Regions from separate parts of the Homo sapiens genome. Here regions 2, 3, 4 and 5 are each linked to region 1. Evidence: promoter capture Hi-C in 16 types of primary human blood cells and fetal thymus (Javierre and others, 2016). All regions are on one chromosome and are shown on one strand. The core of a region is centred on a gene start or on the middle of the fragment in contact, and the rest is flanking DNA. Distances in the headings are between cores, read along the strand shown.

What was found. The method cuts DNA at HindIII sites, captures the fragments that hold promoters and counts their contacts. A CHiCAGO score of 5 or more calls a contact.
Region 2: a fragment that was not itself captured here is called in contact with the fragment with the promoter of SAMTOR in region 1 in 1 of 17 cell types (monocytes); the score reaches 5.9 in monocytes.
Region 3: a contact is called between a fragment that was not itself captured here and the fragment with the promoter of SAMTOR in region 1, in 3 of 17 cell types (neutrophils, non-activated CD4 T cells and fetal thymus). The highest score is 7.5, in neutrophils.
Region 4: a fragment that was not itself captured here is called in contact with the fragment with the promoter of SAMTOR in region 1 in 5 of 17 cell types (non-activated CD4 T cells, naive CD8 T cells, naive CD4 T cells and 2 more); the score reaches 8.5 in non-activated CD4 T cells.
Region 5: a fragment that was not itself captured here is called in contact with the fragment with the promoter of SAMTOR in region 1 in 2 of 17 cell types (non-activated CD4 T cells and total CD4 T cells); the score reaches 5.5 in non-activated CD4 T cells.

Annotation. Positions count from the first base shown.
Region 1 is chr7:112,936,084-112,942,379 of GRCh38, forward strand. It overlaps SAMTOR (S-adenosylmethionine sensor upstream of mTORC1), which reads right to left and starts at 3,792. Exons shown (of 5, transcript NM_152556.3): 1 at 3,508-3,792. The coding sequence starts at 3,667. RefSeq lists a silencer at 3,621-3,720 and enhancers at 3,750-4,266, 3,921-4,260. The HindIII fragment of the contact is 2,363 bases long and covers 2,544-4,906 here.
Region 2 is chr7:112,082,282-112,088,577 of GRCh38, forward strand. All of the region lies in intron 1 of DOCK4 (dedicator of cytokinesis 4), which reads right to left. Among named protein-coding and RNA genes, the nearest start is that of DOCK4, 120 kb to the right of the region's middle. RefSeq lists an enhancer at 2,208-2,307. The HindIII fragment of the contact is 1,646 bases long and covers 1,806-3,451 here.
Region 3 is chr7:112,191,431-112,197,726 of GRCh38, forward strand. All of the region lies in intron 1 of DOCK4 (dedicator of cytokinesis 4), which reads right to left. Among named protein-coding and RNA genes, the nearest start is that of DOCK4, 12 kb to the right of the region's middle. The HindIII fragment of the contact is 3,824 bases long and covers 1,123-4,946 here.
Region 4 is chr7:112,212,105-112,218,400 of GRCh38, forward strand. The region is part of intron 1 of ZNF277 (zinc finger protein 277); the gene reads left to right. Among named protein-coding and RNA genes, the nearest start is that of ZNF277, 8.6 kb to the left of the region's middle. The HindIII fragment of the contact is 398 bases long and covers 3,139-3,536 here.
Region 5 is chr7:112,398,447-112,404,742 of GRCh38, forward strand. No RefSeq gene overlaps it. Among named protein-coding and RNA genes, the nearest start is that of IFRD1, 49 kb to the right of the region's middle. The HindIII fragment of the contact is 2,650 bases long and covers 1,705-4,354 here.

The DNA of each region.
Region 1 (6,296 bases), core at 2,542-5,041:
TTTAAAAATTATGTATGCAAAGACAGAAAACACCTATATGTGCAAGCATATTTCCATTTATAAATATGGATCTATTCACTAGATAGTGAAAAACCTATCTTATGAATATCTTATGAATATAACCTCACTTTAAAAGACTGTCTCTTAACTATCAATGGCAGACACCAGAAATACCCCTTCGCATCACCACTGCTAGGCATCTCCCTACCATTTCTTTTTAGTAACTGCTTCAGATACGAGTGCTGCCTGGAACACACCTTTATCTCCAGTTCTCACTTTACCTTTAGACAAATTGGCACAGCATCTCTTAAGTGGTGAAACAAGGCAGGCCATAAACTGGGGAAGGAAAAAGTGGTAAACGAAAAGAGTGCATTAAGCCTACCTGCTACTCTTTACAACCCTGTTCACCCTTCCCCACCCCAAGCCTGTTCATCACCATCAACTAGCATCAGTTGGGCAAATGGTTGGAGAAGAGTGGAAAAAAATCTTTTCTTATCACAGCAAAAAAGAACAACACAACTTATTTTCATTGTTTTTCCTGTTTTATTTTCAATTCCACTAATAGAGATAAGGGAAAAGAAGGCTCTGTTCTCCAACCTCCCAGTCACTATCTATCCTGTCCTTAATATTCAATGGCTGTTTTGCCTCCTTATTCTACCCTAACTTATTTCCTTCCCTGCCATCTCTCCCCAAAAAACCCTCACCTTGTATAGCCCCAACTCAGCTAATCATACCTATCCTATGGATCATCCATTCCCATCAATTTATAACTTTTCACCTAATGGAAATTCTAGGGCCACTTCCTGCTTCTCATTTTCCCTCCTATTCTAACATTTGGAGTCACTAATATTAGGTTTGGAGTTGGGGGTGGGGAACCTATATTATTCCCATAAAATATGTATAGTATTAATAATGAACTACCAAAGCATCAAGAAAGTTATTTTAATATTTTTAGGACTCCGCTCACTTATCTGTAAAATGAAGAAGCTATTAGATCACCACTCTAATATCTGGCTGACAATTTCCAGTTCCTAATAATAGGGATCTTAAACTATAGATCTGAGGTAGAATACAGGAATTGTCTAAGAGGCACCCAGTTGAATCTGCTGATCAGCCATGTTTGGGAATCACTGCTAAATGCTAAGAGGTTCCTTCTAGTCTAAAACTCCAAGATCCTAAGCTGGAATTTTCACTGCATTTGCTGGTAGAAGAATTGTGATAAAAGGGGTACAGTTTCCATAGTTATTGGTGCTATAGTTCAGGTATGTTATTGATTCAATGGGCCTTTGCAGACTGATCTAGCACTTAAGCAATCTTCAGATTACAATAACAGCTGACTTGCAAATGAACTTGTAAAATATGTTTACAGACTGGGGACCATCAGCACAATACTAAGTCCTCAAAGTAAAACACTAAAAATTATTTCCTTAGTATTATTATGTGCACAGAGTTTTTCACAGATGACTTTTTTACTACTAATATTTAGCCTATATGTCAGAAATAAAGGTAGAAGGAGCATGCTCATTAGGATCACTTATTCTGCTAATTCACTGATGGGGCTTTGTATATCATTCAAGCAAAGCCTAGAGAAGTCTAGATCACCGGTGAAATTCAGGGTATTAAAGCGCCTAAAGAATAGTCTCATTCAAATGTTTAAACTGCCAGGACTTTAACTCCCCAGAAGCATACTAGATCATTCACTTATGAACTCCATGTATCTATTCTAGATCTGGTAACTTCCGATTCTCATAAACAAGAGTTCCTGTGGTTAATACTCAGGCTTAAAACATGGTTAAACATGTGGGAACTAAGCACATATAAACAGCACTTGAAGAGATGCCACATTAGTGTGTTAATTTGAGTGGAACCTATTCATTTATGAATAAATGAATAATGAAATTATTAAAAGGTAAAAATAGAAATGGAATTCTATGCTAGTCATTTTTCTCTTTAGAAAGATGCACTTAAATTTGTACAAAATAGCAGGATAAATTGCAGGAAAATGTGTCCATTTATTTCCTAATCTCTCCAAATAACATAAAATCTACAGTGAATTCCATTATGTAAGAGCATTCTTTGAATATCAAGAATGATGCAGTTGTTGCTATGGTAACTACTCATTTTATTGACTAAATTGTGGGTTTGGGTAGCATTCTTTCAAAAAACATATTTTACCATCCTAAGTAGGTCTGATAAGACTCTTTCTATTGCTATCTGTTAAACAATAACTACAAGCCCCATTTGGGGATGATTAAACAGCCTCTATTAAAAGCTAAGCTTGATTTGCTAAGGAAAGAAACCTTTAAAGTTTGAAAAATGAAACATATCAACTACATTCAAAAGAACAAAGGATACTTAGTTTTAACTTTCTAGAGTAGTTGAAACGTGTGTATAAATCAACAGTAACATGATCTTACCTGTCTGTATTCCTTCACTGCCATAATTTTCCTTCTAATCCTAAATTATTAACTAAGTATAGGACTAACACCAGAAGGCTGCTGACTTTTCAGTTTGCAATTAAGCTAAAATGAGAACCAGTGGAAAGCTTTCCTCATTTCGATACTCAGGAGAAGTCTCTCTCCCAAGCCTATGAAAACAGAATTTTCACTGTCAAAATCTTATAAAACAGCTGTGTACAAAAGCCTATATTTAAAGATATCAAGGATAACTGTAGACTCCAACTATAAACACTCTTCAGGCACAGGCAAAAGCCACTAAGGCTTCTTCCCCTATGAGCTTCCACAGAGGGGGTTCTCACCGGAACCCCATCCATGGAAGCCGAGGGTGGGCTTTATCGGCAGGTGTCTTTAGGAGGCTTCCAATACAAACGGTATTTTCAGAACCTGCCCAGATCTCTTCCTCATCGCCTAAATAAACAGTTAAGACCAAGTATTTAAGAAATGGGAGTGGGGGCCACGAGTGTAGCCCGCCCCCTTTTAACAATGTGAAGTCCAGTCAGCTAAAAGGCCTGCTGGCTTCCCAGCCCTGGAAGCCAATGCGAGGAAGGCTCGGCATGGTTGTAGGAATGAAGTACTAGGAAGGGGGTCTGATAAGGAAGCAAATGGTACAGCCGGTAGGTCAAGCGTAAAGGAGGGACAACTCAGGTTTCTTTTCGTCTTTTACAAATGGATTTTACCTGTCTTGTTTTACCTCGGCGTCTCTTGCAAAAAGCGACCCCCACCTCCTCTGTGAGCGTGTATGTGTTTGTGTGTGCCGAGACAACAACCTCAGCACCCCGGCTGGGGACAGGGGCTTGGAGGGGGTGGGGACTCAATTCCTTTACAGGCCTAGAACTCTCCCGAAGGGCCCTCAAAGAAAAGGGGGCGGGGAGGAGCGCGTCTGATGCCGACTAGGGGGCTCAGACCAGGCCCGGGAGAGCAGCAGCGGCTGGGGGGACGTGCAGATCCTTTACATTTTAATGGTGGCCTCTTTGGAGGAGGGAAGAGGTGACAAGCGGTTGGGGGTGATGAGGCCTCCCCTTCCTCCCTCACTCAGCGCGCTGTTTACCTTCTCGGTACTTCTTGCGGAGCCGCCGGTGGACGCTCTTCACCACACCGGAGAGCTTCTCCTGCTCCAGTTTCCGCTCCTGCTCCCGGGGCGGCGGAGTGTTCGGGGACCCGGCCCTCTGCGCACGAGCAGTATTTCGGCCGCCGGCCCCTGGCTCCATATCGCAGCCGCCGCCGCCGCCGCCGCCCCTCAGGCCCCCGCAGACGCTCCCCAGATGGAGGAGGTGGGGTAGGAGGAGGGAGCTGCGGAGGCAGCAGCCAGAGGAGGCAGAGGAACCGGAGCGACAGCCTTGGAGGTGGACCCTCACCCAAAAGTGCAAACTGATTGGTGGATTTTGAGGGCTGGGCGGAAACGGAAAAGGCTAAGGGCCAATGGGCAGAAAGCGCCGGCGGCGAACCCGGTTGTTTGGGAAGGCGAGCAGCTGGAGGAGGCGGAGCTTGCGGGGATAGGGAGGCTGAGGCAGTGGGAGCTCCAGGCCTGGGTGCTCATCTCTTCCCCACCCTCCCCGGATTCTGTGCGCAGGCGCTGTGGCTCGGCCTCGGGAGACGAGCTGTGAGCAACGCGCTTGCGCGTCTCAGTTTGCTTAGTTTGGGCTTTTTTACAGCTCGGCTTTCTGATGTCTTCCATCATTTTCATCCCCTACACTTTATAATCTGTTGCGATGCGGCCAGGGTGCTCTGCTTGAACCTCCGCTGCACCTTGTCACATGTAGGTTCCCTTTAGTTACTTGCGCTTTGAGATGACGTTACACTTCAGGGACCTCAAGCACACAAGCATTCTAAGGCTCAAGGAGAGGTCTGGCTACCAAATGCTAATTTAATTCTCAGGTCGACAATGGTTTATGCCTGCAGTACTACTGCTGGGCAAAGGACATAGAAAATGCGAAAAGGAGAGGGCCAAGAAAAGCAACAGGAGATGCAGGAGGACAATAAGGAACGATGGAAAACTCACAGCAGATGCCCTCAAGAACTTTTGTAGTGACCACGGTGTTAATAAGCAGCCTTCCCTGATCTTATTCGCATCAGCACTCTGAGCTTTTATGGTCAGCTCAGGTGACCTCCTGTCCTTTAATTTGGAGAGTTAGTCTATGCGGAGTGTATCTAAGTGGGTTTGGTAACCTGTTCACCCTCCTCCACTTCTTTTCCATCTCTTGGGGAACGCGATTGTTGACTTCTGTCCCAGAAAGGTGGAACACTGCTCTCTGGAGAGAGGTAGACTGCATTGGCTCCTGAAGTGGTACTGAGGCTGCTGGAGTGTCAGAGATTGAATAGACTGAGAGCCCCTAATGAGTTGTGTTGGATTGTGTACCACTTCCCCATTGCAGGTGTTGGTTACGTGACAGTCTATGGAAATGATTGCAATGGTAACATTTTGATAATGATTTTCTAACTACGAATAAAGCTTGCATTATGTAACTGTTTTATATGCTACCTTCTTTATATTGAATACGCTGAAGAGCAAAGAATTATACACACTGTCTAGGACACAGGAGAAGCGGGAGGTGAAGGGAGATTGATGGAATTTAAAGGCGGAAGATGTGTCCCTACAGCACAGTGAAGAGACAGATCAAACACAAAGACAAGGACATATAAACTTCAAAAGAACTCCTTATAATTATGAAGAGAAGTTAAGCGGAAGTGCCTAATAAATTGAAAATATGGTGGTCTTATTTGGGGGAATTTCATTTGGGAAGAAAGGGGAGCTTGAATTACATGTCTCTTTTGGCTCTTTCCATATTTTAATACATATGGAAGGCAAATAATGGTGCAGATATTCGAAAGATACAATGATAGTAAAAAGAGCATTAAATTTCACTTGTGCTGAACTGTAGTTTTATTTTTTAAAAAAGAACTTTTCAGCATAATACTAGCAAATGAACTTTTAAGGCCTCTTAACTGAAGATGTTCACTGAAGGAAATTTGGAAAATACAGAAAAGAGTAAAGAAAATAAGACATCTGGACTGAGAGATAACAACTTAACATTTTTTCTTTGTTTGTATATACTAATTTCAAATAGGATATTTCTTGATGCCTATGTGGCAATCTATTGTATGAATAGCCTACTATTTCATTAACCAATTCCCAGTTATTGTAGATTTATGTTTTTTCCAGCTTTTTTGTATTACAGATAATGTCATGACAAACACATTTGCACACAAGTATTTGTCCATTTCTTTAATTATACATTCCATCAGGCTAAATTCCTAAAAGTTCAATTTCTGAAGCAAAGGGTCAAACATGTTAGGGTTTTGATGTATATTATGAAATTGCCTTTTCTGAAAGATAGTAGCAGTTTATGCCATGTCCACTAGTACCTATGGGTGTTTATTTCATTGCACCCTTACCAAAGGTAGGTATTACAATTTACAAAGTCATTAATGAGATTTTAAAAACATGTCTATTTTTTAAATAAATATGTGGAATTTCCTGCTGTTTCGTAACTAGCTATTCTTATTGGTATAATATTTAACTTAAAATACCAACGTAAGAATAAATAAAAGGAACTTATTTAAGACTATCTAGTTGTTGTTGTTCAAGCAGATTGAAGAGTCCTACCTTTTAAAATTACTTTTTGACTTCACACTTTCTTGAAAAGCAACCGAAGAAATAACAATTGGACAGCCAGATTTTATTTTAAAGAAAATGAAATCTTTTTATTTTCTTTAAATTTTTTATTTAAAAAATGTTTTATTTAAAATTTTCATTTAAAAAATTTTAAATTTTTTATTATAAAATAAAGATTTTATTTTAAAAATAAAAATAAGATTTATTTTATTTTATTTTATTTT
Region 2 (6,296 bases), core at 1,379-3,878, 850 kb before region 1:
CATTATTGTAATGTCAGTAGAGGAAACAACAGCCATCACCATGCCCCCATTTGTGGGTCTGAACAATTAGCAGCAAGCCAGGTAGGAAGTTGGTAATTTCACAGGAAAGCCAGAGAAAAAAAGGAAGAATGGCTAGAAATAGCGGGGGTGGTTGCTGTGGTACAAAATCTACCTTCCCTACTCCTTTACTGGGGGATAATAGGATTGGCAACCCATAGGCACGCTGGGATTTCCCAGCAAATCAAATAAATTTCGTAATTGTTGTTCGCTACAAAATTATTTTTCTCTTCCTGTAAGAAACCGGAAAAGCCTACAGAGAATGTATTGTTAATATTAAACCCTCGACTAAAGGAGATGTAGAGGTATTTATGGATAGTAGTCAACTCACTCTCTCTCCTCAGATTACATTACACTTAACGATTTAAGGCTTATAGTTTACTATATAGAAAAAGAGAAAGGAGAGAGAAATACTAATCACCACAGTACTTGCTGAGACATTTTATATCAGAAACAACTGAGATTGGTAGTGCTATTCATGTATCTGAAAAATATATAATTTTTTAAACTTGGTAAAATCCTACCCATATGACTTAGCTAGAAATAAATTTTAAATTAAAGTATCATTTATTCTAGAATGTATTTAAATAAAAACCACTTTATTACTTTTAATGTATTATGGAGATGGTCAATTTAAAGTCCACTGGGTCTACTTTTTGAATAGATTAAGCACACTTGAAATTAGCACTAATTATAATTAGCATTAATTGTAGCCCCAAATAAATATTCTAATTTTAATAATGTACTTCTTTTCAGAGGGTTCACAACATAAATTTTATAAATAATCCCTTTATCCATAAATTGCACTAAGGTAAAGTAAATTTCAATGTAGTTTAGGCAGATTAATTATGAATTAGGAATCAGTAGAATTTTTTATTAATATGATCTTAACATAGTTGAAAATAATTTTATTTGATATGTGAATACCATCACAATTGCCTCAGGCTCTCACATCTATCATCTCCATTGGTTTTACATAAAAGTACCTAGAGATTAGGTAATTTTCCCCTAGTTGTTCTGTGAGTTGGTTATAGATATAAGATTAGAATATAAAATATAGAATTAATAGTATAACGTATGACCCAGTTACTATAACATAATGAATTAACCTCTGTTTCCTAGAAGTTTTTATCTTTACATGTTGAGCTTAACCCCTCATACCCAGAAGTCAAATTTCTGGCAACATCTCTAATTCTTTTTGGAACAAAATGATTAAGGTAAATAAAATAAAATAAAATAAAAGGCCACCAAACATCCAAAATAGCTATGAAAACAAAGCTTCACTCCCCAGAAGGCCTTAAAATCTTCATGTAGAATTTATCTTTACCTGAACACAATTTTTAAAAGACATGGTTTTCCGTGGCACAGAATGAACAAGATGAAAAGTCAGAACTGATGGCAGGGATATTAAAGATATGAATAATAACTACATATAGTATGGAACCTTGTTAGAGGATCATACCAAAGGCTTAGTTTAGTACGGTAAATTAGATTGGTATTTGGCAAATAATCACTTTTCCCTAACCACCTCATGGAATAAGTATACTTCCCTGCTCTGCTGTTAGGCTTAGTGATTGACTTACTTTGACCAACGGAATGGAATCAGATGTGATTCCAGTTGACAGCTGAAGTGCGCTTGCACAGTTGGGCTAACACTCTTGTACTCCTACCACGACCATAGGAATAGCTTCGCTGGTTTGCTTCCTTCAGACTGGGCCCTCAAAATAAACATTTCTGGAACAGACCTAAGCTTAATCCACAGTGAGGACCTAAACCCAGACAGGCCTGCAGCATGAAGTAGAGTCATGCCGTCAGGCCTGGCCCAGAACATGCCCAGCCAATCTCTATCACAGAGAGTGAGAATGAATGAAAATTAGTTTAAGCCACTGAGTTGTGGAATTGATTTTTATGGAGCAACAGCTGACTGATGCAATCATAAAGAAAAAGTGAAAAGATGTTTAAATTGCTTCCGCTTAAAACCATTACATTTCAGTACAATTTATATCAGCAGCTACTAAAATATTTGAATGTTTAGTGTTTGAATTTCAGCTGACTAGAAAATTTCATTTATACAGAGAGCATCCCAAAGCCACTACTTAGCAGCATGATACATGGATCTTAGAAGTTGTGTGTCCAGCAAAAGGGAATGAGCATTTTCTTTAAATAAAGTCTGCTTAGCTTTGCTGAACAGTTCTACCAGACCCTCAGTTAATATACTTTCATCTGAGGTTTCATGCTGCTGACTAGCAATAAGAAACAGTCACATGATGCTTGGGCTGAGAAAATGTTTCAGTTCCCACAAATAGAGCAATGCAGGAAATTTCAAGACATGCATAATGAAAACGAAAGAAAATCCTTGTTTTCTTAGAAAATCTCCCTTCATGTTTGTACAGAGTGAAGTAACAGATATCCAGATTTAATGCCAAATCACAGTGACATGACTTGTTACCATTGTTATGCTACCATTACAAGGCACTTCCCGTGTGACCGGCTTTCTGCTGGGTGTTTTCACCATTATCACTTCAAGTTAACCACACAACTATTCCAAAAGGAAGGTATTATTACCATGTATGTGTACTTTAGAAAATGAAAAAACTAAAACATACAGAACATAAGTTACTTGGCCAAGTTGTATGGCTTGGAAGTGGTCAAGCAGGAATTTGGAGCGAGGGCTGTCTGACTTCAGAACAGTGCTCTTACTATATCCCATTCTATGAGAAAATTGTTCTAGTATATTCACTTCAACATCAGAAACTGCCACACAGATCATATCACAAAGCCATCTTCTAATCTTTTCTCCTCAAAATGAAGAGATTTAACATGGTAACATTTGGCAAAGAACTTCATAGCTTCCCCTCAGTCCCACAATATTTGCTTGAATCAAAGGGTCAGGATGCTCAAGAGAGCAATTTCAAATTATCTTTCATAAACCAGTAAACAAGATTAGAGATTTTAAATCCATAGCCCATCAAAAACTGATTTGGCTGTGTCAAAAAGAAACAGAGGTCAAAGTGACCTAAGATAGGGCAATTTAAGAGGAAAAAAATGCACTAGATTGAAAGACATCTAATATATAAAAACTCATGAGTTCATAATGATACTAATGAGAAAATTTCAATGATTCATTACTGCCGGTTGCCAGGGTACAAATTTATGATTCCAAAAAGTTATAAATAAGGAGAAAGTATCAAGCATTTATCTTACCTTTCCTGTAAAAAGTGTATTTCAAGGTAATCAAGTAGCAGATGGGTAGAAGTTCTTTATGGAAGAATTCACCCAATAAATGTACAAGAAATGACAGAATCACAATGAGAAAACTAAGATTTTCCTAATTCCTAAGATAAATAATGGATCTTGACAGTGATCATCAATGGATGCTAAATCCATCAGGGAAAGCTTGATAGAGAACTTTCAAATGGGATCGGGCTGACAGCATTTGAACTTGCTGATCTAGGTATCTTCAGCAGTGTCCCTGGAAGAGGCACAGGCAGACAACAAGTCTCTCTTGCAGAAAAAAAGACACAGCCCCAGCTATGAGACATTTTTGCCAAAAAAAGCAAATAAACAGACCAGAGTCTAATCAAGTCTCTGGAGCTAACAAGTACATCCTTGAAACATTGTAATATGGGCTGGCTGTATAGGATATTAATTCTTGAAATGATTACTCCTTATGTTACATGTCATGACAATTTGGTTAAAAAAATCCTCGGAAATGTATACTGGAGTATTTTGAGGTAATATAACACCATATTTAGGATTTGCTTAAATGTACTACAGGAAAAAGAAAGATCAGACATGGATAAGATTGGCAAAATGTGGATAATTTTTGAAGTTCAAAAAATACATGAATATATAGTACGTTATCTTTGTACACCTTTGTGTACAAATTTCCACAATAAATAAGGCAGAAAGGGAAATCCAGAAAAACTAGCTCACCACAGTTCATGCCCATTTAAATATAGGGACCATAAGTCGTGCACCAGTTAACGTCTGTGTCTGTCTGTTCTCTCTTTCTTCTCTTTATTCTTTAGAATTATAGTTTCTATATTAAATAGCTAAGTTTGGGAAAGGTTTTGTTTTCTTAACAGGAGAGTCAATGAAACAGAAAACGTTTTAAAATCAGAACCGAGAGCACCAAAATTCATTAACTCAATAAATACTTATTAAGTACCTACCTTCTCCTTACTGTCAAAACTCAAAGCTGTGGCAATACAGCAGTGTATGAGACACAGGTTCCTCCTGTTAAAACAGTGGTTGCCAAAAATCTAGCAAATGTTGGTTTCCCATTAGGATCAGAAGTAAGGATGTGGTAACAGAGGCAATTTCCAAAATCAACTCGGGCATGTAAAATGTCAATAAAACCCAACTCTGAAGTCACATCTAACCGATTCTGACAGAGTTTTACGCTGAGCCAAGGCCATCCTGCCCAAGCACACTAAATGTTGACTCTGAAGCACATGTAGGGGAATTAAACAGTAACCAAGGATTGGAAGGGAATTTTGTCACAGTTTACACAGTCAGTAGCACCAGGATAGAAAAGCAAAGGCACCTAGGAGAATTGGAAAATTCTGTCACTACCAGCACCCCCACCACCCCTGAAAAAACAAATCAGAAAAAGACAGGATTTTAATGAATAACCTTGCATGCTGAACCCTGGGTAAGAAGGAAGAAAAGACAGAAAAACTGAGATAACCCTCAGGAGTCTCAGAGTTCTATATTTTGTGGTGCAGACAGGGCAGCTCACCAGGCTAGGGCTGTGGTGAGCTATTTCCTTTTTTAACATTCCAAGATGCCAATATAGATGATGTCCTTCTCCAGGTACCCATTTCTCTTTTCAACACCTGTAGTTCTTGATTAATTAATTCAATCAGGACAGACTTATGTATTAACTGTACACTTTCTTGACAACCCCTTCTGACACTCAGGTGCCTAATGTAGGCCATCTCTTCTTCAGCTGCTAGGTAATACATACCCCTGTTTTTATGGAATCAATATAACATAAGGATTCCCTGGCCAAACTTGAAAATTATCTTTAGATTTAGATTTGTTCTGTTTTGAAAGACACGTATGGAAATGCTTATTTGCACACAAATAGACATCCTCATAAAACTGCCCAAATTCACTGAAGACGCCTATATAAACATGATAGTCTTCAGATTCAATAATGACAAAGCAAAATATCCTGCAGCTCTGGAATGTACCCTTAAAGTATAAAGTGTCAAAAACAAATAATAAAATGTCTAGGAAAAAAATGAGAGATTTAAGCTTTGAATTTTTTCCTTGAAGAAAAGAAAAAAAGATATCGTTATCTAAAATACTATGTACCCTGAGACAAAACTGTCAGACAGCTTCATTTTGGGTTATCTCCTAAATAGAGTCTCACTTTTCCCTAAGCCTTTCTCTCCAGTCCCACTCAGAAATGGGTATCTAACTCCTGAGACCTAGACCATCATATTAACATTGTATTGGGACCATTTGTCAATTATGGGACAAAGGAGACACATCGTGAATGAAATACAGCCCTGTTTAGACATCTCTAACAGATCCATGGAGTGGCATGCAGGTGGGAGATTTGTAATTACTACTCCAACACAAGGTGTTAAAAAATATGATAGAAATAGTCAAAAATACAGTGGTGTCCCTAGCAAGAGGTACATACCCAACAGTGGTGAAGGGGAGTAGATTTTTAAATAAATAGGCTGGAAAGGCAGTAGACAAGCAGGAAACCAGTGGGATCGTGGGACAAGGTCCCGTATGAGACCTCGCATGCAGACAGGGAGCACAACTAGGTGAGTTTTCAGGCAAAAGCATAGAAGCATAAAATCACATCTTCAGGCAGGTCACACTGTTGGCTGGAGGATCAGTTTTAGAGTGAAGTTTTAATACATGGTCATTCTTCTTCAAGTTTAAACACTCAGTCCATGGCTAGATAAACCACCAGATAATAAACAGAATTACAAAGCCTTTTTAAATGTGTTCTTTTGGCAACTGAAATATCCCCTTTTAATTCTTTGAAAGGTTAGATGTTTATAGATAAAAAAATGTATCTCCTATATAATTAATGGATTTTCTTATCCTCTTTTGGAAAACATGTAAGACAATACTTATTTGCACACATATATACATACACATAGAAACACCCAAACTCCTAAGTGAAAATTTCTGTACATATCCAAGTCTTCATATTCAGTAGTGATAAAATCATGATTAAAGCAGCCAGTATGACCTCTTGTTTTTTT
Region 3 (6,296 bases), core at 1,785-4,284, 750 kb before region 1:
GTCACCACTGTGCCCCACACCCCCACCCACCAGCAGTCAGCATACTGACTGACCATCACTACCACAGACCAATGCTAGAGTAAAAAGACAACGTGGGGACTTATTTCACATAATACTGGTATTAACACTAGTATCTTATTTAAAAAATAAAGTATAGTGAGCAATTTCTTCAGCACTGCCCATAGAACCCCAAAGCCTGGGGCTGTGCCTCCAGATTCTGGCCCTAAGTCGTATGTACAAAGGTGTGATACCATGAAGGGACCACATGCTTCAGGCTGGGACAGATGAGTGCCTGAATCTCAGCCCTTCACAGGTGGGTCCCCTGCAACAAATTACTGGCCCTCTCTAGGTCTGCTGTAAGGCTGGAGTATGTGCACAGGGCCAATCACACAGGCCCAGCCCTTGGTAAGCATTCATCCTAAAGCTGGGTTTTCCTCTGCCTGCCCACTCTTATTTTTCTGTAATTTAAATATGGATATGTTTAAATTATATACTATATAACATTACATACTATATATACTTATATAATATATATTATAATTATATATAAGTATACTTAAATATTATATATTATATAGTATATAACTTAAACATAGTATAATTTAAATATAGTATATATACAGTGTTTGTGCTTGTGTGTGTGTATATATATAGTGTGCATTTATATATAATTATATACTATAGTTTCTATTTATCCTTCCCAAAATCTCTTGAAGGAGAAGAATCGATCCTAAATCCATCTTTCTTCCTCTGCCCAGTCTTAGAAGGAATCACACACAAAAAAAGATAAACCATTTTCCAAGATACTTAACATCGGTCAGGTGACAGGAATAAGAGGGGACAAGGGGGAGGGGAGGGGGAGGAGGTGGAAATTACCCAAAAGGAAGAGGAAGAAGGTTTTCCAGATATTTAAAATGTGATTCCACTCAGCTGTTTATCTTGGGCGATCTTAGCAGCCGGTGACTCACTCCTATGGGAAGTATCTCAATATGAAACTTCTATTCTTTTGTAGAAGTTCTGAGTCTTCCAGGATATGAGACACTCTTTCCTCCTCAGGGCTGTTTCTTCAGGTGCACAAGTGAATAATATCATCACCATCCCAAGTCCTTATCTTCATTTTAAAGCTTGAAGGGGAAATATCTGTCTTAACTTTCACACTGATTTATCTGTGATACTTTATGTACTCCCTTACTGTGTATTTAAAAACAAAATCAGGGTAACATCTATCTTGAAGAAATGTTGTTCAAAGTAAATGAGATAAAACTATGAAACATTTCTAGCTCCTTCACTTGTCCAGTCATCCAGTTCTATATCTCTTTGGATGCTTATCAAGCTAGCATATTGCCTTATACATCATAGGCATATACCATAAATAATCATCCAACAGAAGTTTTTCTACCAACATGTCGTAAAATATGCCCTTATGCTTGTCACTAAGAAAAAAAAATGCAACAAGTAAATCTTTAGAGGAAGGTACTAGCTACTCTCAGGAAACACATACTTAAGGATAGTAGAAAAAGAAAAGAAATTCCTCCAAATATTGCTTCATTCTCTTCAGGGACCTGATATTCAACAGCCAGGACTTTCAAAAACAAAGTACTCCTAACCCAATGCCCCAACCAAAGTTTCATATAATAAAACTTCCATCTACTTTTTAAAAATGCTAACCTATATGATTAAACCTGTCACCCTAGGTTTTTATAAAAAACTGTAGCAAAAAGAAATGAAGCATCTGAAGACTCTACCTCTTTTGGTTGCTTTGAAGGCACCCAAAGTGATGTGACAACTCAAGACAATGTGAGCAACTTTGCAAAAATGCCATTATTCAAATAAACAGATACCTGGAGTTACTAGTCGATATCTACCATCAAAAAATCTAACTCAAATGGGTGCAGTCGTTTATACTTGTAATCCTAGCACTTTGAGAGGCTAAGGCAGGAGGATCACTTGAGCCCAGGAGTTCAAGACCAGCCTGAGCAAAATAGTGAGACCCTGTTTCTACAAAAAATGAAAATAAAAATAGCCAGGTGTGGTGGTGCATGCCTATAGTCCCAACTACTGAGAAGGCTGAGGCAGGAGGATCACTTCAGCCTGAGAGATCAAGGCTGCAGTGAGCCATGATCACACCACTGCATTCCAGCCTGAGCGACAGAGCCAGACCATGCCTTAAAAAAAAAAAAAAAAAATTCTAGCTCAATTAAGTCTGTGCCTCCAGAGGTGGGCCTGCAGAGTCAGATCTCAAATCACAGAGAGAGCCAACACTAACTACATTGATTACACTGAGGTTGAGGATCCTGCTTCTACTTTTTTTATATCCCTCTTCCTACAATCCCTAAAATGTCTTTAACCCTTCTGCTTGGGCTGCCATATAAAGTACCACAGGCTCGGTGTTCTAAAGCATGGAAGTCCCAAATCAAGGTTTGGCAGGACTAGTTCCTGGTGAGGACTCTCTTCCTGGCTTGCAGACTGCCACCTTCTTGCTGCACCCTCACATGGCCCTTTCTCATGCTACCTATGAAGAGAGCATGTGAGCTCTCCAGGATCTCTTCTTATAAAGACACAAATCCTGTCAGATCAGGGCCCCACCCTTATGACCTCATTTAATCTTAGTAACCTCCTTACTCCATATATATCCATATTGGGAGTTAGGGCTTCAACATATGAATTTTGAAGGAATACAAACATTCAGTTTATAGCACCCATAAATAAGCAATTATTCCTATTATTCTGTAATTGCTAAATAAAACCTCTTCAAATTGTTGACTCTCTATGTTGAAAGGTCTGTCCTGCACAAATTATCCCTGGGTCCATAGTCCAACAGGACAGAGTTTATAGAACAAAGGAAAAGTGAGCAGTGACACCAACATCAGTCTTCTAAGCAAACATTTCATGGAGAGAGCAGAATTTTTACCTTAGGTGAATTCATCTGAAGCTGTTTCAACAAATTAAAAGAGCAATTAGAGCTCCCTTTCAAAGGCTTAGACCCCACAGCTATATGAAAACACATCTTCACTGTGGATACTGGAAAATGAACACAGCAGTGACATCACAGGCAGTCAAACTCATATAACAAGGAAAGCTACTTTAAAATTTTGAAACACAGTACTTTCTGCACATAAATGACAAACTAAATTCAGGCTGTCCAGACTCAACTTCTACCAGTCCAACCTCTAATCCTGAAAGGAAACCTCACAAAGGAAATAATGTTTGGCTTATAGAAGAACTTACATAATGATTTTCTGATTATAAAAGAAATGTATGCTAATTTAAGAAATTACTAGAAAGTATGAAATTAAAAATAAGCCATCTCCTCAATTATAATAATTGGTTGTAAGAACATTACAGGTAATGTGTATGCCAATTCTTCACCTCTGATAAGTATTTTCCCATTTTAAAACTCATTACAATAATTTCTACATAGTGTATACATGATATTGCCTAACCTGGGGCAAAGAACATAAATATTTAGTCTTCTGAATCAATTTCTATAACTATGGATGAGAGTATTAATGGAGATTTTACATACAATTAATACAAATATAGTTCTCCTAAAAAAACAAACTGGAGGCTGGGCGCAGTGGCTCACGCATGTAATTCCATCCCTTTGGGAGGCCAAGGTGGGCAGATCACCTGAGGTCAGGAGTTCGAGACCAGCCTGGTCAACATGGTGAAACCCCATCTCTACTAAAAATACAAAACTTTGCTGGGCACAGTGGTGGGCACCTATAATCCCAGCTACTCGGGAGGCTGAGACAGGAGAATCACCTGAACCTGGGAAGCAGAGGTTGTAGTGAGCCAAAATTGTGCCACTGCACTCCAGCCTGGGCAACAGAATGAGACTCCATCTCAAAAAATAAACAAACTAGCAAACAAACTGGAGAAGGGGCAAACCTTTACTATGTGTGCAATTTTTTAGGAATCCTCAGATCTTAATGTTTTTCATCCAGACTACTGGAGAAAACCTCAGAGGTTTCTTCTCTCTTCATTCTTTATAGAACTGCCTGTTGATGTTTTGGGTTTTCGTATTTCTTTGAGACCCTGGCTAACCCCTGAGCCTGTTATCAAGGCAGCTTTACAAGCTCCTCAACCAACTTTGGCTACCAGAGGAGAATGGAGAACAGGTTCTCTCCTCTCCCCACAAAGTGAATAATGTTTCATCCAGGATCTCGGTTGGGGCTATTTTCGGTTGCCTTATGTACATGCATCCCCACGTTCCCAAACCTGCCTACTTCTGGTTGCCAACAACGGATGAGATTATTCCATTTTGGAGAAAAAAAAAAATAAGACATAGAACCAAATCTCCACGTTTCTGCTTAAAGACTTCAGGGAGAAATTTTTGGTTAATGTCCAATTGATAGTCTAATAAACAGCAAATTTCTTGGTTTAGGAAAATGTTTCACAACTTGGGAGATAAGTTGTTAGCAAATTCAACCAGGAAAACTTACAAATTTCATATCCAGAAGGGTTCTCACCAACCACCCTCCCACGAGGGGGCACAAATGGGGGAGGAGAACAAATACACATGTGTTAGTAGTTTCCAAAAGCCTCCCATGTAAATGTCATGCTCTCCCCTCTTCCTCACTCTCCCGTTTTCTTGAGAAACAGCCATGTTTTCGTTCATTGCTAAGTGACAGATGCCTGTCCAGATTTAGTTGCCTTCCCGCTTCCATAGAGATGCAAATGTGATCACTGATTAAGGCAACCTGGATCTCGAACCTCTCTACAACGCGAAGGACTGAGCTAAAAATAAAGGTATGGGTTCAATTCCACTTTCAGATCTGCGTTCAAGGCTAGTTGATGTGTACAGCTCCAAGCCAGGTTCCCAGTTGTAAGTTATTATATACCATGTACCACGGTTTTAGGGCAATTCAGATGAAATCATCTCTTATCCCCCTACCTCCTTCTCTGTCACCAATACCCTGCCAGAAAAACTACACTATCCAGTAAGCTTTGTTATTGCAATACTTTCAAAGCAACTACAAAATCACTGTCCTTATGAAGACCACAGTACACTTCTCAATGGTGAAGTGGCATCTTCTATAGACCCCTTTCCACCCACCTACCCACCTTCCTGTCCTGCTCGTTTCTGAGAGTGGTCATCTCTCAACAGAATTAAAAAGATGGGGTGAAAAGAGAAGGATTACAGATGCTTCCGGCAGTAAATGGCGTGCTCCAAGTTGGATGTATTGACCTGGTCTCTAAGCTGGTGACAGAGAGTGGGGAAGGGGCAATGGGTCTTCCTGTCATCTTTCCAGTCATTGAGGCCTCTCTGTTTAATAAGGGAAAGCCAAAAGAAGCCACCAATAGGTTTTTTTCTCTTTTTAATCCAGCTTTATTGAGGTATTGTTAACTAATACAAATTGTATATATTTAAGTTGTACAAACTGATGTTGATATCACCTTAAATATACACACATACATTGTGAAATGATTACCACAATCAAACTAATTAACTATCTAGCACCTCACACAGTTCCCTTTTTTTCCTGTAGTGAGAATACTTAAATCTATTCTCTTAGCAAATTTCAAGTATACATTATTGTTAACTATAATCACCACGCCGTACCACTGAAAACCAAGAAAACATTGGTTTTCTTCAACCAGTTCCACCTGCCTTAGGGAAATTTCACGTGAATTTTGCCAACAGACGTTCTGTCAGACTTAGTTTTCAGTATTATTAATGTTTGCCTCTTTCTGTGAATTTATTGTTATTTCACTGATTAGTTAGGAGAGCCTACATGAGGGGAAGGGAACCTAGTGCCATCATAAGCTAGAATTCCTTCCTTTAAGTCACTTATTTTTCAGGAGTGCCATAGTATAACTTTAAGAATTCTTGTGGTTCCTAAGAGGTATTATATATTTACCAAAAAAAAAAAAAACTGTATGTACAAATCTATTGCTTTATATATTGAAGCATTTTTCCATTTTTAGATGGGTGCGTGTTCTTAAATGCTGTTTCAGGGATGTATAAATCTTGTTCATTGAAATATTATTCGTGCACTCTGTTTTTCAACATCCTTACTGGGAAATCTCACAAACGTGCACAATCTGGCATGAAATATTTGTTTGGGAGAAGACTGTCACAGACATAGAAATAACTAATGCCTTAGCTAGGCAACGCCCTAGAGGGAAGCAAGAAAAGACTGTAAAATGTAGTTTACGACCAACTCTAAATGGACAGCTAATATTTCTTACTTGAGAATCCTTTGTACCCATATTAATAAAATGCCTCGAGATGACTGCTGTTTGAAATTTGGGGTCTGTCATGTTAAAACTTAGAATGAACAGGCAGACTA
Region 4 (6,296 bases), core at 2,088-4,587, 720 kb before region 1:
CATTTAAGGATAGTATTTCAGTTTTTTAAAATAAAGTTTTAATGTTGTTTAAATAATAATTACATTTTTTAAAAGAATACTTTAGATCTGGCCTTTATAACTTTAAGCCTGTAACTGAATGACCTACCACATGGACCTTGAATTCTGTCTTTCATCATCTATATGGCTGTTACCAATTTTCTACAGGCTGTCATTCTATTTCTATAAACCATTAAGTCCAGTCTCATATATTTGACATGGCAATGGAAAGAGGACTAGACCTTATTTTGACAAAACGGTATTTAAATTCCAATTCTGACATTTAAAAGCTGTGTAACATAGGTTTATTATATGTGCTGCCACATTTATGAAAATATCCGTATAATACCTGTCTTGCAGTTATTGTGATTATTTCATATTTATATATTTATGAAAGCCTAGCATATTTCCTGTTATAAAGTCAGACCTCAGTAAGTATTAGTTGCTTTCATTATAAAGATAGGCCCAATTATAAAGATCTGCCTGCTCTATCAAGAACTGCCTGCTCTTTGATACTGTATTCACTTAGGAAGCAATCTAAATTGTGGAGTAACCCTGGGGAAGCTTAGGAATGTGTTGGTGATAACTGCTTATGCTGTCAATGCTTTCCTGGAATTTGGGAGTTGTCAGAGTGTCTGTTGGTGCTACATACTAGTATTACAACTATGTGCTCTGCAAGCCTTTATATTATCTTCTGTATCCTCTCTCACTTCTATACAGTGCTACTCTACTCACACCCAGCTCCCCACCCGCACACACACACATTGACACTCAAAGTCATCAAGAAACTCAAGTAACATTGTATACTGGGGTTGCCTCACAAGGTATAGGCCGTGGGATGTCAGAGAAGATAAGAATTATAGAAACTACTCTTGTAGGTCTTGTTTGGTGACATGGTTTGGCTGTGTCCCCACCCAAATCTCATCTTGAATTCCCATGTGTTGTGGGAGGGACCTGGTGGGAGATAATTGAATCATAGGGGCAGGTCTTTCCTGTGCTGTTCTCATGATAGTGAATAAGTCTCATGAGATCTGATGGTTTTAAAAAGAAGAGTTTTCCTGCACAAGCTCTCTCTTTGCTGCCATCCATGTGAGACGTGACTTGCTCTTCCTTGCCTTCCACCATGATTGTGAGGCTTCCCCAGCCATGTGAAACTCTAAGTCCAATTAAAACCTCTTTCTTTTGTAAATTGCCCAGTCTCGGGTATGTCTTTATCAGCAGCATGAAAATGGACTAATACATTTTGTATAAGGTTCTGAAGAGGCCTTATTTAAAGCATTCTTTTATTTTCCTATGACAAATCAATGGGACCCAACTTGTAGGATATTTAGAGAAGAGCTCTTATTAAAAGGGATATAATAATGATGATGTGTATGATAGCTAACATTTTTTTGAGCACTAACTGTGCCAGATACTGTTTCAAATGCTTTTATAGGTATTATCTCATTTCATCTTCATAGCAACCCCTAGGTAGTCATATTACGCTTTTTATGTACAAATGAGGAAACTGATGAAAAGAGTAGCTTGCCCAAAGTCACACAATAACTGAGAAAAGACTTTTATCCTATGCACGGTTGTAATGATGTCTCATAGTAACTAAATTCCATTGAATGAGGTCTGAAACAGACTTTTCTTACACATAAATATGCTCTAAAGCCAATGTTACCATAGAAAGGCAGTATGGAATAGTGAAAAGATTTTAAAATCAGGCCAGCTTAGGATCAGATTCTGGTAAACCTCTGAACTTCAGTTTCTCTTCTGTAAAATGAGTAATACTGTATCTATATTGCTGGGATGTGGAAATGATTAGGTGAGATGATATAATAGTCTGGTCTTCAATTGTGACTGTTATTTCAGTCATAGGTATAGGCACATCTTTGGCATATGTGCCAGAAGTGATACAAGTGGTTTTAATATGTCTTCTGCACTTGAAGAGCAGGTTATTATTGAGGGATTTGATGGGTCAGATACCGAATTACATACACTTATTGTGTTGACCTTGACCTTCCCATTCATGCAAAAGAATAGTGCTGCCCTTTACAATACACACTCATACACTTCCATCTGGAAAAACTGTAAAGAGGATGTCGATCAGATTCATATAATAGAAATCATACTCTCTTCTAAATATAAATCACGAGTATATAGAAACAAGCAATGTGCATAAACTGCTGTCTCCAGTGATTAAATCTTCAAATGTTTCTATTAGCTCTTCTTAGAGAACTTTGCCACAAAATTAGGGTTCAGTTTTGACTTATTTGATAAACTTATCAGACTCTGAATGAGTTGGCTTTTCATTGACAGTACCTTAAAGACTTGCCACCTCATGCTGAAACAAGTATGTTCTACTGACCTACTTGACCCAAAGGTGAGCAGGGCAGCTTTTTTCAGAAGTGGTGATAGATTTGACTGATCAGTCTTCTGTTTTTCTTTACTTCTCACTGATCATCTTTGTAACTAGTGGCATTTATTTGCAACATAGGCAGCTGGGGTTGAATGATATCTTTGGCTATAGGAACCAAGTAAAGTTTTCTAGAGCTAAACAGGATTTAAACCTTTGCTTCATGGGGTGAAGGGAGGTTGGGAAAGAGGGAGTCAACAATTGACAAGTGGTAAAATATTTAAAATTTTATAGGATAATGTGGGATAGTATTAAGCTTTCTCCATGAGTAGCATATTTAAAATAATCAATGTACAGTATTGAATCAGTAAAATATGTAGAAGGAAAAACTGGAATAGGAGTCAGAAGACCTGGATTCTGAATCTGAATTTGTAGCTTTTTAGCAGTGTGAACTTGGGGAAAATCGTTTAACCTCTCTGAGCCTCAGTTTCATCAGGAAAAAAAAAATGATGTTGATATTATTGGGAGGTGTGGTGAGGGCAGAGTATGTTAAAGCACTCTATGAATCTTGAGGCACTATGAAAATATAGGGACAAATGATGCTACTGATAAAAGTCTGTCTCAAGAGGCAGTAGCGAGTACAAGCCCAAGCTTTAGACTTGGATAAACTGGAATCAAAAGGAGCTGTCAGCTAAAAGCTGTATGACCTTCAGCAAGTAATAGGACCTCATTATTACTATTATGGCTGCTGCTGCTGCTACTGCTACTACTACTACAAAAGCTTGGATGTAACTTTAAAATGATTACAAACTAATCAAAGAACATTAAAGCTGGAATCAAGACAAATCCCACATTATACAATATATAAACTCTGTAAGGACAGGAACTGTTAAATATACCTTTAACCTCATCCTCTGGGACAGTGTCATGTTGTGATGGCATTTGGTGGTGTTTGGCAACTGTGAATCAGCGCCATGCTGGGCTCTATATGGGATACAAATGAAGAACCCCTAGCCTTATCCATGTGGACATCTCAGTGTAGTTGGTGGGCTCTGCATCCCTGTCTCACCGGAGCTAATAAGAGAGTCTCTTCTAGTTCCATATAGCACTGTGGGATGAAGTGGATACATTTGATTCTGTGATATGCATGCCTTGCCAGAGGCGCTGAGCATACTAAAGCTTTTACATGTGTTTATTTTTAAAAGAAAGGAAATTCTTGTTTTGCCTCCTTGTTTCTCTAATACTGTCCTCATTTCATGTTTTTTTCTTAACTGAAAGAACTCTCCCCTCCCTGCAAGTAATCACAGAGGCCCTGCCTTTAAAAAACTTTTTTTAGTGTTTTTATCCAAATAGAGAGGTTTGTTTTTTTACTAGTAAAGATCTCAGAATTGTAATCGTGGTTATTTAACACAGTCTTCTGTTATGTAATAAGCTGCTATTCACCAGTAATAGCCAATTAGAAAAGAAAATATCCTGTACCCGCTAATCGTAATTACCATTATAAAGCAATTAATAGCAGAAACTGTTGCTGAACTGTAACATAACATCAATCAAGCTGTCTTTGCCAAGGCACTGTACAACTAATTTTCTCAAATGAAGGAGGAGAAGGGAAGGAAAGGAAGGTGAGAGTCTGCGGGCTTATTTGAATTTCTTTCAAACCAGTTTATGAATGACTTTTGAATGCTCTTTAAATATGCATCCACTCACAAAGGTAAGTAATGCTAATAATGTACTGCGACATTGAGTTATTTTTCCAGCAGCAGTGATCATAGACAGTACAGCTTTGCAAAAAGCTCACTGGACAAGGAATCAGAAGAACTAGGTTTTTTTTGGTTTTGTTTGTTTTTGTTTGTTTTTTGTTTTTTAGACAGGGTCTCACTCTTTTGCCCAGGCTGGAGTGCAGTGGCATGATCTCAGCTCACTGCAACCTCTGCTTCCTGGGCTCAAGCCATCCTCCCACCTCAGCCTCCTGAGTAGCTGATACTACAGGTGTGTGCCACCATGCGCAGCTAAATTTTGTATTTTTTGTATAGATGAGGTTTCGCCATGTTGCCAAGGCTGGTCTCGAATTTCTGAGCTCAGTGATCCGCCCACCTCAGCCTCATAAAGCGCTAGGATTTTAATCCCACTTCTCCTTCCGACTGACTGTGATTTTAGAGAAGTCATTAGCACTCCTGGTTAAGATTTCCTGGTTTGTAAATGAGGGAGTGAGATTATGTTAGCATCCTTTCAACTCCATCTTCCAAATATCAGTAAAAGAAAGAGGAGGTAGGTTTACAGCTTGGGAGCCGACATAATTCAGTCCTAGCATCTGTAAAAAGAAAAAGAAAAATCTGGATATGGCCTGAAGAATTAGTTGCACATGTGTGTGTCATTGATCAGGTGTATCAGGTTAGAAAATTGGCTGAGAACCACTGCAGTAGATGTCTTCTGGGATCCTATACTCTGAGACAATATGGATTGATTATTAGGATGCATCCTATCTCACTCTCCTTTCCATTTGTAATAAACAGTGCAAAACTGAAAGAGCTACTGATAGAACTGAGGTTTCGTTCATTCAAAAATTTTATTTAGCATCTGCTATGTGCAAACTTCTTTATTCTGAATGCTGTAGAATACAAAGATGAGAATAACATTGGTCTTGCCATCAAGGATCTTATGACCTAATAGGGAGGATATAAGAAGTACATATTACAAGGTAGAAAGTGCTGGGGAACATTAGAGTGATATACATAGAGTTATGCAAAAAAGAGATTATTCCCAACAGGTGGTACTGGGCCTTGAAGTTTAATAATATTTGGACATGCAGAAACAAGGAAAAAGTGTTATAGGCCTACACAAAGGGAGGGAGCAATAGAAAAACTAAGGGCATATACAACAAGTATCAAGTCAATACATTTTGCCTAGAGAAAATGATAAGTAAATGGCAGCAATGGAAAAGAAGTCTGGAAATGTAAATTGAAAGTAGATCATACTGTCTCAGATCTTAGAACTTGATTATGCAGACTGAAACTGCCTTTGCAAAAATTATAGCAGAAAAGTATTGTAGTGAGAGACGTCTGACCTAACCGACTCCATCTTGCTTCTAACCTCCAAGCTGCCGGTGTTCATTCCTGGATATGGGCTGAACTAACTTTGGGAGGAGCTTAGTTCATAGTTTAACTTTGAAACAAAGAGATAACAGCCCTTTCCCAAAACAAACCCGCTTCTTGCCTGGCGAGTAGACTGCCTTTTGCAGGACTAACTAAATTAACCACCAGATTAAAAATTATGGTTTAGTAGTCATGCAGCTAGAGGCCACAAGGTTCTAAACCTCCTCAGTTGTTCCTAGGGATAACATCACTATTGTAAAACCTAAGATTAGTGTTTGAGATATTTTCCAGACCCTGCACTCAGTGGGTCAGCTGGTACCACCGTATCAATAAACTGGCTCATCCGGTCTTGTGGCCGCCACCCAGAAACTGACTTAGCGCAAGAAGACAAGTTCGACTCCCTACGATTTCATCTCTGACCTGACCAATCAGCTCTTACCACTTTCTGATTCCCTATCCACCAAATTATCCTTAAAAATTCCGATCCCCAAATTTGGGGAGATTGATTTGAGTAATAATAAAACTCCAGTCTCCTGTACAGCTGGCTCTGCATGAATTAAACTCTTTCTCCATTTCAGTTCCCCTGTCTTGATAAATTGATTCTGGGCAGTGGGCAAAATGAACCTATTGGGTCTTGAAACTTTGAAGAAAAGGAATGACAAGATCAAAGTTTAATCAGGTAACAATGTACTGGAGGGGGAAAGTTAAGTCAGGAGTCCTTGCTAAAGCAAGAGTTAATGAAGAACCACAATAGACTTCAGTAACTTGCCGTTGTTTTTTGTTTCGTATTTTAGAATTTTTTAATTGACAACTAAAAGTATGTATTATGTACAGCATGATGTTTT
Region 5 (6,296 bases), core at 1,780-4,279, 540 kb before region 1:
CAATGAATTTGAGGTGCCTTGAGACATCAAAAGATCTTTAGTAGGCAAGTGGATAGGTGGGTTGTGCTGCACATTCTGTTTGCCTCTCCGGAACTACTCTCCACCCTCCTCCACCCTGCTCTGGGCCCTGGGAGGCTGACCTGCATCAACAAACTCCCTTTGCCTCTGGCTTCATACTGGGTTGGTTCAGTGGAGAACCCCAGCAGATCAGAGAAGGAAAGCGAATGCGGGAGATGTTTATCTATCTGGCTTCCTCCCTGCAGGGTTGCTGTGGGCTGGCTATATCTCTGAACCACAGGCCATAGCCCTTGTCAGGTGACTTCTCCACCTCTCTTTCTCTCCAGGTTCTGGATGTGCTCTTGCTTGTTCCAGAATACTGCATGACCTTTTATCATGTCCCTGTTTCCTGTCCACTCACTCTAGTTGTTTCAGTCTGAATGTATCGCCCATTTCTGCCAGGGTACTAATGAATACATGGGTACAGAATTCAGAGGAGAAGCTCAGGCTGGCTGGGAAGGCATTTTGAGAATCATCTGTTTATAGATGTCATAGAAGCTGGTGTGGATAATAAATCCTTTGTGAGGGAACACAGCTGAGAAATGGAGAGTATTAAGGACCAAGGTCTAAGAAATTCTAACTTACCTCCCACTGAAACAGGGCAGTGAGAAGAATGACCTGATGAAAGGGACCTCCAGAAACCCCCTTGAATTACCTGGAGAGAGGATAGGCATGTGTATTGACCATCCCACAATGACATCACACAGTGGGAGAGAGGCAATTCCCTACAAAGAAATTAGAATGATATTAAAAGGGGAGAATGGATGCTGAGTGGCTAGAGTCAACACACACACATACTCACACGTGCACACATGTAGCATACACACCTACATAATTTTATTAAAATGGGATACACATATCTCTGGTTTGTTAGCAAGGTTAATTCCTCTATGAGTCACAGAAAATCCAAAATAGTAGTGATTTAAATAAGAGAGCAGTTTTTCTGTCAGGTAAATGAAGTTTGGAGGCAGTTCTGGCTGCCATGACACTCCATGGTGGCAGAGATCGAGGCTCCTCTATCATATGCCATCCTCAACATATGAGTTCTACCTCATGGTTCAGGATGGCTACTTGTGCTCCAGGCATCTTGTCTGAATTCTGGCCAGCAGGACACTCCCCAGATGTTGCACATAATACTTTAGCTTACATTCCACTGGTCAGAACTTAGACATATAACCATATCTCCTGGTGAGCTTCTGAGATATAGCTTTGTTTCAGATGGCTGTGTGCCCAGCTTAAAAGCATGAGTTCTAATATAAAGGAAATAGGAGAGAATGGAAGTTGGGACACTGCTAGTGGTCTTTCCCCAAACACATTATTTTGTAATCTGTTTTCTTACTCATACAAACATTTTCTTTTTTTTCTCCCAACTAATTTTGATGACTCCTTGCTGGTCATAGTCAATCTGTAATATTCTTCCATGTGCACTATCTCTCCTAACCCAAAGCACCTAAGAAAAATATCAGATGATATCAAAGATCCCATACATGGCTAACACAGTTCAGGAGGATTCTTTAAGCCAACTTAGCTAATCCACAAATTTTACAACATTAGAGCCAAAAGGACCCATAAAGAACATCTAGTCCAAGGAATGGAGCAGCAACAGATCAAGGCTAGTATTTCAGCAAAGTGCAGCCTAGCTACAAAAGCTTGCCTCTTGCAGCTAGTCCTGACTCTCTGTGATTTAGAAATACTAGAGTATGTTTGATTCATAGGCACATTTTACATCCTGCTTTAGGCAGATATGAATGTGCACATGCTACCCCTGGCTACACATCAATTTCCAGACAGGAATAAACTACGTACTGCTTCTTTTTCTAGGAGGCGTATGATGCTGTGGTGAATGGGGCCATAAATTTCTGCAGGAGATGAACATTCCACAGTCAGGACTCATTACCATGTCATTGGACTGCCTTTTCCCTTAACAAATATGATCAGTTTTGTTTATGGTGTTGGTAGGAAAGGTAGCCATTGGCTCAGAGAATGTAGCTCATTAAGCCAGATTAAAGCAACTAAAAAAAATTTTCTTAAGCAGTGTGGAATAGAAACAATCTCAAATTCCAGCCTAGGGTAGGTTGGGAAGGCAGTAGGATAGTAGGATTTTTCTCATTATGATGGAATGATTTACTTTTTATGTAGGCATTTCACAGTTTAGGAGGTTAACAACTACTCTGAGGCAAATTGTTCTAGAGTTATCAAACTCTGTCCTATGTGCAAGGCAGAGTGTAGCATGGTGAAAGGGGCTTATAATAACAAGCACACAAGATTTTTGGAAAGAAATGAAACTATGAATGACAAATAGTATAATATTATAAACTTTAAACTGTCTACCAATGTTATTTTCATCATCATCTTCTTTGTCTCATGGCTTCAGCATAGATGTTATTTAGAGTTTTATATGTATATATAAAGAGTTATATATATATATAAAGAGTTATATATATATATATATATATAAAGAGTTATATATACATATTAGTCTGATATAATTATTAGGTCCCAGGGAGCCCTAGGTTATTAGTCCCCAAAGATCTATCTTAGCCAGATAGTCAAAGGGTTGTGTACAGCTCTTTCAGTGGGAGAATTAGTAAGTCATCATGTAATTCTAACATTTGTGTGGGCAGAAAGTTGTTTAACTTGAACCTGGTATCCACAATTAAAGATGCTACTCTGGAACACTTTTCAAAGAACCTAATAATTCTCCAAGATTACAAAATGGTAACAAGAGTTGGATACTGCAGGTGTTACTTTGGTTCCTGGTAAATCTAACCTCTGTGTCAGACCGTTCATTGGAGACAGTGGTTGAATAATTCATGGTGCCAGATTTTCAATCTCCATGTAATAGCTTGCCACATGTTGGTCTGTTGGCTGATCCGTAAAAATACATAGTGCACAAAGTAGCAAGTAGAATTATTTTCCCCTATATTATGTGGAAAGAGTCATCAATATTTTTTCATGAATAAGTATTTAAACTACTGAATAATAGCTATATTAGTTATGTATTGCTGTGTAATAAATTACCCTAACCCTTAGAGGCTTAAAATAATTCCTATGAATCAGGAATCCAAGCACAGCTCAGTTGAGTGCCTCTGGCTCAAAGTATCTCTCAAGGTTACAATCAAGCTATCAACTGGGGCTGTGGTCTTATCTAACAGCTCAACTGGTAGTGACATTGGGGTCTGCTCCGAAGATCACTCATGTGGTTGTTTGCAGCCCTCAATTTCTTGCCAGTTGGGTTTTTCCATAGGGCTGACCCATGACATGGCAGCTGACTTTCCATACACCCAGTGATAAGAGAGAAAAAGAGACAGAGAGAGAAAGAGAGAGGAGAAGGAGGAGAGGAGAGAAGTCAAATAGAAGCCAGTCTTTTTTATGACTTAATCTCAAAAGTGACATGTTATAATTTTTGCCATATTCTTTTTTTTTTTTGAGACTGAGTCTCGCTCTGTCACCCAGGCTGGAGTGCAGTGGCACAATCTTGGCTCACTACAGCCTCTGCCTCTGGGTTTCAAGCGATTCTCCTACTTCAGCCTCTGAGTAGCCATGATAACAGGCACATGCCACCATGCCCGGCTAATTTTTGTATTTTTAGTAGAGAAGGGGTTTCACCATGCCACCTGCTTCGGCCTCCCAAAGTGCTGGGATTACAGGCTTGAGCCACTGCAGCCAGCCTCTGCCATATTCTATTCATTAGAAGTGAGCCAATAAGTCCAGCCCACACTCAAAGAAGGTATTACAGAAGGGCATGAATATCAGGCAGCAAGGATCATTAGGAGTTATCATAAACACTTCTTACAACAATGGTATTGGAGTTTTATATTTTGGAAATGATCATTTGGCAGATGGTCTTGGTTATAATAAATTATTTTGTTTTTACATAGCAGCTAATATCAGATTGTTAACAAAGTGAGACCCTGTGAGTTTAGAAATTTGGTGATAATATCCTAGAAAATGCTTAGTATCAGGTCAGGCTTTATGACCTACTTGCAGGTACTGATCCTATAAAATCTACATACTATTTTCATAGGTTCAATGTATTTCATCTAGTAGACTCTCTTTCAGTGAATTAAATAGTAAACTAATTTCTGCTTCTCCGAATTCTTTAAACTAATGAACAGAAAGTCAATTTTACAGGTGAGAATTGAGTTTATTGTTTATTTGGCAAAATTGGGCTGTTATACATACCTTCTAAAATGTAAGAGATGTGTGTATGACTTTAATCTCTAGGAGTTTATATCAATTCATAGAAGATATGCTTTGCTAAAACCAATGAATATTATTTTCTTTATGCCTGTAAAGCTTCACTTAATATTTCTTTTATAAATTCACTGGCAATGAATTCTCTTAGCTTTTCATTATCTGATATTCTCTTTGGGTAAATGATTCTAGCTTGAAAGTTTATTCTGTCAGTACTCTAAAGATACTGTTCCAGCCTCTTCCAGCTTACATGATTTCTGGTTAGAAGTTTGCTGTCATTTTTATCTTTGTTCTTTGTACATAATGTTCTATAATTTGTCTTGGCATTATTTTCTGAATTTATGTTTTGCTTGGGGTTTGTGGAGATTCTGTGAGTTTACAGTTTTCATCAAATTCGGAAAAAATTTGATCATCGTATCATCAAATATCCCCGTATTTTTTCTAACATGTGTAATATAAGCCCCAGTTACACACATGCTAGAATCCCTAATATTGCTCACAGTCACTGATGCTGTGTGTATTTCTTAGTCTTTTTTCTCTCTGTGCTTCATGCATAGTTTTTCTTCTGGTTATAGATAATATTTTCCTGCTTCTTTGCATGCTAATAATTTATGATTGGGGCCGGGCGCGGTGGCTCACACCTGTAATCCCAGCACTTTGGGAGGCTGAGGCGGGTGGATCACAAGGTCAGGAAATCAAGACCATCCTGGCTAACACGGTGAAACCCCGTCTCTACTAAAAAATACAAAAAATTAGCTGGGCGTGGTGGTGGGTGCCGGTAGACCCAGCTACTTGGGAGGCTGAGGCAGGAGAATGGCATGAACTCGGGAGGCGGAGCTTGCAGTGAGCTGAGATCGTGCTACTGCACTCCAGCCTGGGCGACACAGCGAGACTCCATCTCAAAAAAAAAAAAAAAAAAAAAAAATTGATGATTGGATATTGAACATTTTTGAAGATCTGATTTTGCTGTATTCCTTTAAATAGTGTTACATTTTCTTCTGGCACATGGTAACTTAGAATCAATTGGATTCTTTCAAATCTTTCTTATAATCTTTGTTAGGGCAGGTCCAGAGCTGTATTCAGTCTAGGATAATTTAGCCCTCCAACTAAGGTGGAATACTTTTGAAGACTCTATCCAGTGCCCATGTCGTGCAGAACCTTTCCACTCAGGCTTGTGCAACACAAACCATTCTCAGCCCTGTGTGAGCTCTTGGAATTGTTAGGCCTTCTCATTTCCAGTGGTTCCTTTGCTGGCCTTGGGTAGTTTCCTTTCACACACATAGAGTAGTACTCAGCCAAATACTTGAGCATACTCCTCTGTAGCTTGCTTGTTCTCTTTCAGAAGCTCCCTCTTTTTTGGTAATTTGTCTTAAAAATTCTTCTTGCCTTGGACAATACCTGCTTTGCAACACAGCAAGACTTTTGGGGTCTGTTTGAGTTTCCCCTTTTTGTACTGCAGCCTAGAAACTGCCTCCAGTGAGTAAACTGGTGCAACTGTAGGGCTCCCTTTTTAGGGTTTTTTTTTTTTCTCTCAGAGAGCAAGGCCCTGCTGCCTGTTCTCCAATATGTAAAATTGTTTCATTTATTTTGTCCATTTTTTCCTAATTGTTTAAGGTGAGTGGGTAAATATGGTTTCTGTTACTCCATCTTGGCTGGTAGTGGACTTTTTATGATGAAATCAAAATAAATATAGAATTGTACTTTTAAGAACCTTTGTTGTGAGAATTTGAGTAGCAGAAATACTTAGAAAAGAGAAGATAAAATCAATTAACATGTTGAATGCTTCCTCTCAGATAACCTGAATGCAATAGATTATTGCACAATAAAATATTTTTCAGTAGTGCCAAGTGTCCATGTTCTTGCTTCTCCTCATGTTCCCATCTGTGGTTCCAGAGCACAGTATTCACAAAAATTGTATATGGTGGCCAAGGAATATTTTGTAGTATCAATTCATATTACTTAAAAAAACTTGTATATATGTAGGCCTGTTGTAACATGAGCAAAGTGCAATATGAATTCTTCACATTGTCAACTAAATGGAA